2 separate regions of the Homo sapiens genome follow, and region 1 is linked to region 2. Evidence: promoter capture Hi-C in 16 types of primary human blood cells and fetal thymus (Javierre and others, 2016). All regions are on one chromosome and are shown on one strand. The core of a region is centred on a gene start or on the middle of the fragment in contact, and the rest is flanking DNA. Distances in the headings are between cores, read along the strand shown. Region 1 has its middle 11 kb from the start of UBE2G1. Region 2 holds the start of ANKFY1 (ankyrin repeat and FYVE domain containing 1).

What was found. Contacts are between HindIII fragments. The CHiCAGO score rates a contact against its expected background, and 5 or more counts as called.
Region 1: a contact is called between a fragment that was not itself captured here and the fragment with the promoter of ANKFY1 in region 2, in 2 of 17 cell types (endothelial precursors and total CD8 T cells). The highest score is 5.5, in endothelial precursors.

The regions. Positions count from the first base shown.
Region 1 is chr17:4,375,508-4,379,413 of GRCh38, forward strand. No RefSeq gene overlaps it. Among named protein-coding and RNA genes, the nearest start is that of UBE2G1, 11 kb to the left of the region's middle. The HindIII fragment of the contact is 3,377 bases long and covers 1-3,316 here.
Region 2 is chr17:4,262,338-4,266,192 of GRCh38, forward strand. ANKFY1 (ankyrin repeat and FYVE domain containing 1) reads right to left here and starts at 1,642. Exons shown (of 25, transcript NM_001330063.2): 1 at 1,595-1,642. The coding sequence starts at 1,604. RefSeq lists a silencer at 939-1,088 and an enhancer at 1,739-1,828. The HindIII fragment of the contact is 3,100 bases long and covers 1-1,912 here.

The DNA.
Region 1 (3,906 bases), core at 378-2,877, 110 kb after region 2:
AGAACGGGGTCCTGTTGAGGTGGAAGAGTTGCATGGTGTGAACACTAAATCAAGTAAGCTGGAAGGATAAGAAATGGTGGTCAGGGTGGGTGGCTGGAAACTGAGAATCAGGGGGTGGTGCAGTTTTGGGTGACAAGACTGTCTCATGTGAACATAGGCCAGCTGGTGGGAAGGGGAGAAGAGGAAGTCAAGTGGTGACAGGCAGGGGTACTGGATGGGTCATCCACGTGGGTAATTAGGTCCCCAAGGAGAAGGGCTGGAGTAGAAGGAAGAGAAGGGCTGTGAGGCAGGAACCAAAGTTCGTGATGAGGGGGTCTGCCGGTCACAGCACCAAAGGGGAGTAACAAGTGCTGCAGCTGGATGGCATTAACCTCAAACGAGCTAGGGGCTGGCCGGGCGTGGTAGGTCACACCTGTAATCCCCAAAATTTGGGAGGCCAAGAATGGGCAGATCGCTTGAGGCCAGAAGTTCGACCAGCCTGGCCAACGTGGTGAAACCCCGTCTCTACTGAAAATACAAACATTAGCCTGGCATGGTGGCACACCTGTAGTTCCAGCTACTCAGGAGGCTGAGGCAGGAGAATCACTTGAAACCGGGAGGCAGAGGTTGCAGTGAGCTGAAATTGCACCAGCCTGGGCAACAGAGTGAGACTCTGTCTCAAAAAAAATAAAATAAAAAAGAAACAGGTTCTCAAACTCCTGGCCTCAAGCCACCTTTTCCCTCTCAGCCTCCCAGAGTGTTGGGTTTACACTTGTGAGCCACTGCACCTGGGCCCTTGCTTTTTTGTTTGTTTGTTTCTGTTTTTTGAGATGGAGTCTTGCTCTGTCGCCCAGGCTGGAGTGTAGTGGCACGATCTCGGCTCACTGCAACCTCCGCCTCCTGAGTTCAAGGGATTCTCCTGCCTCAGCCTCCCAAATAGCTGGGATTACAGATGTGTGCCACCACGCCCAGCTAATTTTCGTATTTTAATAAAGTTGGGGTTTCACCACGTTGCCCAGGCTGCTCTCAAACTCCTGACCTCAGGTAATCTGCCTGCCTCGGCCTCCCAAAGTGCTGGGATTACAGGCGTGAGCCACTGCGCCCAGCCTTTATTTTTATGTATTTATTTTTTTGAGACGGAGTCTTGCTCTGTCACCCAGGCTGGAGTACCGTGGCATGATCTCTGCTCACTGCAGCCTCTGCCTCCCGGGTTCCAGCGAGTCTCCTGCCTCAGCCTCCCGAGTACCTGGGATTACAGGCACACACCACCATGCCCAGCTAATTTTTGTATTTTTAGTAGAGATGGGGGTTTCACCAGGTTGGCCAGGCTGGTCTCGAACACCTGACCCCAGGTGATCCGCACGCCTCGGCCTCCCAAAGTGCTGGGATTACAGGCGTGAGCCACCATGCCCGGACCTTTTTTTTTTTTTTTTTTTGAGACTGAGTCTCACTCTGTCACTGAGGCTGGAGTGGTGCAGTGCCGTGATCTTGGCTCACTGTCTGCCTCCTGGGTTCAACCGATTCTCCTGCCTCAGCCTCCCGAGTAGCTGGGATTACAGATGCCCACCACGACGCATGGCTAATGTTTGTATTTTCAGTAGAGACGGGGTTTCACCACGTTGGCCAGGCTGGTCGAACTTCTGGCCTCAAGTGATCTGCCCATTCTTGGCCTCCCAAATTTTGGGGATTACAGGTGTGACCTACCACGCCCGGCCAGCCCCTAGCTCGTTTGAGGTTAATGCCATCCAGCTGCAGCACTTGTTACTCCCCTTTGGTGCTGTGACCGGCAGACCCGCTCATCACGAACTTTGGTTCCTGCCTCACAGCCCTTCTCTTCCTTCTACTCCAGCCCTTCTCCTTGGGGACCTAATTACCCACGTGGATGACCCATCCAGTACCCCTGCCTGTCACCACTTGACTTCTTCTCCTCCCCTTCCCACCAGCTGGCCTATGTTCACATGAGACAGTCTTGTCACCCAAAACCACACCACACCCCAAATTCTCGGTTTCCAGCCACCCATCCTGACCATCATTTTTTTTTTTTTTTTTTTTGAGACATAGTCTTCCTCTATTGCCCAGGCTGGAGTGCAGTGGTGCAGTGGCCTGATCTCGGCTCACCAGAACCTCTGCCTCCCGGGTTCAAGCTATTCTCCTGCCTCAGCCTCCCAAGTAGCTGGAACTACAGGCATGTGCCACCACGCCTGGCTAATTTTTATATTGTTAGTAGAGATGGAGTTTCGCCATGTTGGCCAGGCTGGTCTCAAACTCCTGACCTTGTGATCCACCCACCTTGGCCTCCCAAAGTGCTGGGATTATAGGTGTGAGCCACCATACCATACCCGGTTGAAACCGTGTTTCTTTTTTCTTTCTTTCTTTCTTTTTTTTTTTTTTTGAGAAGGAGTCTCACTTAGTTGCTCAGGCTGGAGTGCAATGGCAGGATCTCGGCTCACTGCAACCTCCGCCTCCCAGGTTCTAGTGATTCTCCTGCCTCAGCCTCCTGAGTAGCTGGGGCTACAGGCGCCCGCCACCACGGCCGGCTAATTTTTTGTATTTTTAGTAGAGACAGGGTTTCACCGTGTTAGCCAGGCTGGTCTCGAATTCCTGACCTCGAGTGATCGCCTGCCTCGGCCTCCCACAGTGCTGGGATTATAGGTGTGAGGCACCGCGCCTGACCCCATTTTGGCTTAAATGTCTGCCCTTCACAATCTAGTCTCTAGGGATGCTCTAGCCTCATCCTGACACACTCTACTTCTGACACACTACACTTCTTTCCTTCCTCCAAAAGGTCTTTCCATTTGGTGTTACAATAGCTTAAAACACTCTTTTCTGGGCCAGGCGTGCTGGCTCACGCCTATAATCCCAGCACTTTGGGAGGACGAGACGGGGGCGGGGGATCATGAGGTCAAGAGTTGGAGACCATACTGGCCAACATAGTGAAACCCCGTCTCTACTAAAAATACAAAAATTAGCCAGGCGTGGTGGTGCACGCCTGCTACTCGGGAGGCTGAGGCAGGAGAATCGCTTGAACCCAGGAGGCGGAGGTTGCAGTGAGCTGAGATCGCGCCATTGCACTCCAGCCTGGCAACAGAGCGAGACTCCGTCTCAAAAACAAACAAATAAACAAGCAAATAGCACTCATTTCTGCTAGATGTATGTGGTTAATACCTACAAATCCATCTTTCAGATCCTTGAAAGAAGCAACTTCCTCCAGAATACCTCTGGCAATCTCTAAACTAATCTTATCTTCCCTGTTTCCTACTTCCAGCTTGTATTACATCTCTTATCCTAGCATTTGTCATGCAGGATTGCAGTTGATTATTTTTCTTTTCTGTGTATAAGCTTGTGATGGCAGGACTGTCTTTCATGTCTTTGTTCGCAGAGTTTAATATAATGATGCTATACAGTAGCACCTAACAAATATCTCCTGAATGAACTCATGAATCCTATAAAATCAATAACAGGGTAATTCTCCCAGATAAGTATAGGACTCTGCTTATTTAATTTGGGTATTTGGATTTGTGTACCTGGCAGAGGGTGGTACCAAATAGCGTGCCTCATGTTCTTTTTTTTTTTTAATCTAAAGTAAAGTTAGTAAAGTTAACAGAGTCTTATTCTGTGTTCTTGACACCACAGAATAAGCCTCTATTAACTTTACTAACTTTTTGTAGATTAAAAATAATAATAATAATAATAATAATTAAAGGAAAATAGGCCAGGTGTGGTGGCTCACACCCGTAATCCGAGCACTTTGGGAGGCCGAGGCAGGTAGATTGCCCAAGCTCAGGACTTGGAGACCAGCCCAGCCAACATAGTGAAACTCCGTCTCTACTACAAATACAAAAAATTAGCTGGGCGTGGTGGCGGGCGCCTGTAATCCCAGCTACTCGGGAGGCTGAGGCAGGAGAATTGCTTGAACCCGGGAGCCAG
Region 2 (3,855 bases), core at 392-2,891:
TGTAACCTCCGTTTTCCGGGTTCAAGCGATTCTTGTGCCTCATCCTCCCGAGTACCTGGAATTACAGACACGTGCCACCACACCTGGCTAACTTTCGTATTTTTTGTAGATACGAGGTTTCGCCATGTTGCCCAGGCTGCTCTTGAACTCCTGGCCTCAAGCGATCCTCCCACCTCGGCCTCCCAAAGTGCTGAAATTACTAGCGCGAGCCACCACACGGGGCCAAGACCTTGTCTACACACACACACACCCCTTTTTAATTAGCCGGGTGTGGTGGCGAGCGCCCCTGGTCCCAGCTACTCAGGAGGCTGAGGCAGAAGGATCGCTTGAGCCCAGGAGACTGAAGCTACAGTGAGCCGTGACCGCGCCACTGTACTCCAGCCGGTGGGACAGAGCGAGACCCTATCTCAAAACACACACACACACCCCCCAAAACCAACTGGGTGTCAGTCACAGCTATCTCTGTAACTTTGCCTAAATTCCTTTATCAATAAAGGCAAATACACACGCCAGGCCTCCTTCACGAGGTTATCTGAAGTCTAATGCAAATGAGAAAAGCCGACCAACTGTCAGGTGCTGCCCAAATCTAAGATCCATCAAGTGATGGGTTCAGTCAAAGCTCAAAACCAACAGGAAAGGTCGTGGCCAAGCACACTGCAGTCACTCAATAAACAAAGGTCAAATAAGGAATACTGTTCTCCAATAATGGGGTGAAGAGGAGAACCAGGCTGCCCAGATCCAACAATGTCCCTGCACGATTCCTGACAGGTAACTCCCCGTCTCTGGGCCTTCTTTCCCCCTACGTGTACAATAAGGCTTTGACAATGAAGGCTTCTAATTACTGCTACATTAAGACAGGCAGACTCTGAGAGACCAGAGTGCCTTAAGCTGCAATGTCATGAAAAGTGCACGAGACCAGAGGGTAGGCACTGGACGGGGAGGCAAAGGCACAGAGGTCTGGTTTGAGCAGCCCTCTTGTGAGCAGTGTGACCTTGGCCAACTCCCTTCCCGCAAACCCCTTCCTCCCGTCTTCATCTGTACGCCTGGCCTGAAGGCTGGGGTTGCAGCAGAGCCGGAGCCGCCAGTGCGCCCGCCTGAAGCGTGGGCCAGCTCGCTGCTGCCTCGCCCCCACCCCACCCCACCTCACCCCAACCCAGCCCGAGGAGACCCACGCTCTTCCGCAAGCGAGGGATGGACCCCTTCCGGATGCAGAACGTGCCAGGACAGCAGTTTCGATTTCCTAAGGAGAAGGCTTACTTCCCCCGGCGTCCCGGCACCGCCGGCAATCAAGAGCCTCCCGTGCTGCCCTCGGGGCCCCGCGGCTGCACGCAGCACCGGCGCGGGACCTGCCAGCCCGGCTCCGCAGCCGGCCGCAGTCCCGCGGGGTCGGCATCGCGGGAGGGACGTTGTCATAGGAACCGCGCTCCGGACCCCGGCCCGAGAAGCTCCGGAGAGGCTAGACAGGAAGGCTCGCGAGACCCGCGGAGCCCCCATGCAACCACGCCCGGCCTTCCCCTCCCACGGCAGCTTCGCACGGCCAGCAGCGCCCCCACAGCTCCGTGTCTTCCCGCGCGGCTCCACAAAAAAACCCTACCTTCCGCCATGTCTGGCCCGGCACTGCCTGCAACCTCGCGAGAAGTGCGCGGCTCAACCGGGGCGGTGCGGAACGGAATCACCAAGTCTCGCGAGAATCGCGGGAGGCGCGGCAAAAGGCGGAGCCGAGGGTAGGAAAGTGGGTGAATGAAAGCGGAGGGGGTTGCTGGACTCTGGGGGAAGCGGAGAGCCGGGTTTCTTTTTACCGGGTATTTTTGAGGCTCGAGATTTATTAAGCACTGACTGAGCCCTGTCATATTCCACGTCCTTGGCAGGGCACCGAAAAGGATGACACAACGAATGCAGACTACTCTGGAGAAGCTTGGCAATGAGAGGGTCGAGAGAGGGGGTTTGTTGGTCCTTAGGTTTGTAAAGAAAGGAGAGGCTGGGAGAAAGGAGTCAGTGGAGAGGTCCCTGGGGAGGTAGGATGCTCTGCATGCGATGCAGAACTCAGGAAAACGGATTAAATTTAGACTAGAGGCAGGTCACCTGTTATTCCACTAAAACGGTAGGAAACAAGAACATGCGTGCAGATATATAGGGGGGAAGAAAATCAGGGAGATCGTTTGATGACATCGATTTTATGGGTGAAGTTATGAGACAAGGAAGGAGACCAAGAAGAGCAAAGAAACTTTGGAAGAGGACGCTGAAGTTGGAAGGCCTGGTTTCATGTGCCTCATGTATGTGTTGATGGATCACTTTTTTCTAGAACTCAGCCACCAGGCTGCAGTAGCAGATATTTTGAATTATAGCATTTATCCAGGGCTTGGGATTGCATTGCCCAAAATAAATTGAGGGTGCTATGAGACGACAGCCCAGGCCATCAAACGTGGGATACAGACTGGCTAGGGACTGATGGAGGAGCCACGAAACTGCAGGTCTCTGATAATTGAAGGCCAGTGCAGTGCAGGCAATGTTGTGAGAGCTTGGTGGTTAAAGTGGCAAACAGGTTCATAGTGAAGTAGCACTAGGAGATGAGAAAAGTCCAGGACAGGCCGGGCGTGGTGGCTCACGCCTGTAATCCCAGCACTTTGGGAGGCCGAGGAGGGTGAATCACCTGAAGTCTAGAGCTCAAGACCAGCCTGGCCAACATGGTGAAACCCCGTCTCTACTAAAAATACAGAAATTAGCCGGGCGTGGTGGTGCATGCCTGTAATCCCAGCTACTCGGGAGGCTGGGGCAGTAGAATCGCTTGAACCCGGGAGGCAGAGGTTGCAGTGAGCCAAGATTGTGCCACTGCACTCCAGCCTGGGCAACAGAGTGAGACTCTGTCTCAAAAAAAAAAAAAAAAAGTCCAGGACAGAGCCACGGAATAGAGTGGCTGAAGTGGAAGTGAGAAGGCAGGAAAATTAGATGTTGGGATTTAGAGGTAGGAAAGGAAAGGAGCATCAGGAGCTAAAATCTTTGGTGAATGTGGGGAGGACTATACGATTAGTTAAGACAATTGCAAAATGGAGGGCTAAACAGTAACATAGCTGAATAGCATGAGACCTTTCTTGTTTTTTGTTTTTTTTTTTTTTCAGAGATGGAGTCTCTGTTGGCCAGGTTGGTCTTGAACTCCTAGTCTCAAGCAGTCCTCCCACCCCAACCTCGCAAAGTACTGAAATTACAAGCATGAGCCACCATGCCCGGCCCAGCATGAGACCTTTCAAAAAAGACTTTTACTCAAGGGAGAATCAAAAGAATGCATCAATAGTTCAGGATTGCAGGGAAAGTGGTGGCCTTGGAGGACAGCCAGGAGTAAGAGACAAAAGGTTGGAAGGAAGGATCTGAATTAGCTATACCTGGTGGTGCAGGCTTTTAGTTGTCGCTACTTGGGAGGCTGAGGCTGAGGCTGGAGAATTGCTTGAGTCCAGGAGTTTGGGACTGCAGTGAGCTCTATCCTGCCGCTGCACTGCAGCCTGGGTGACAGAGCAAGACTCTGTCTCTAAAATTAAATAAGAAAAAGAAAAGAAATTTAAAAAGAAGAATCTGAGAACAGAATAAGAGTGTCAGAAACGAAAAGGAGGATTTAAAGTTGGAGAAGCTTTAGGTGCTGTTAAGGATAAGCATTAGTGGGTAGTGAGGTGGAGTGGAGGAGGAATTTGGAGCTTAGATCGTGGGAACATAGAGTCAAGCACTGAATTTTTGAGGAAGAGTAGGAATTCTGGCTGCCAGGTACCTGGGAGATGAGAGACGGTGTTGAAACGTGTAAGCCTTTTTGTTGTGGCAGGAGACGAAAGGCACGAAGATGGTAGGGGAGAACTTTCCCTACCATGGGAA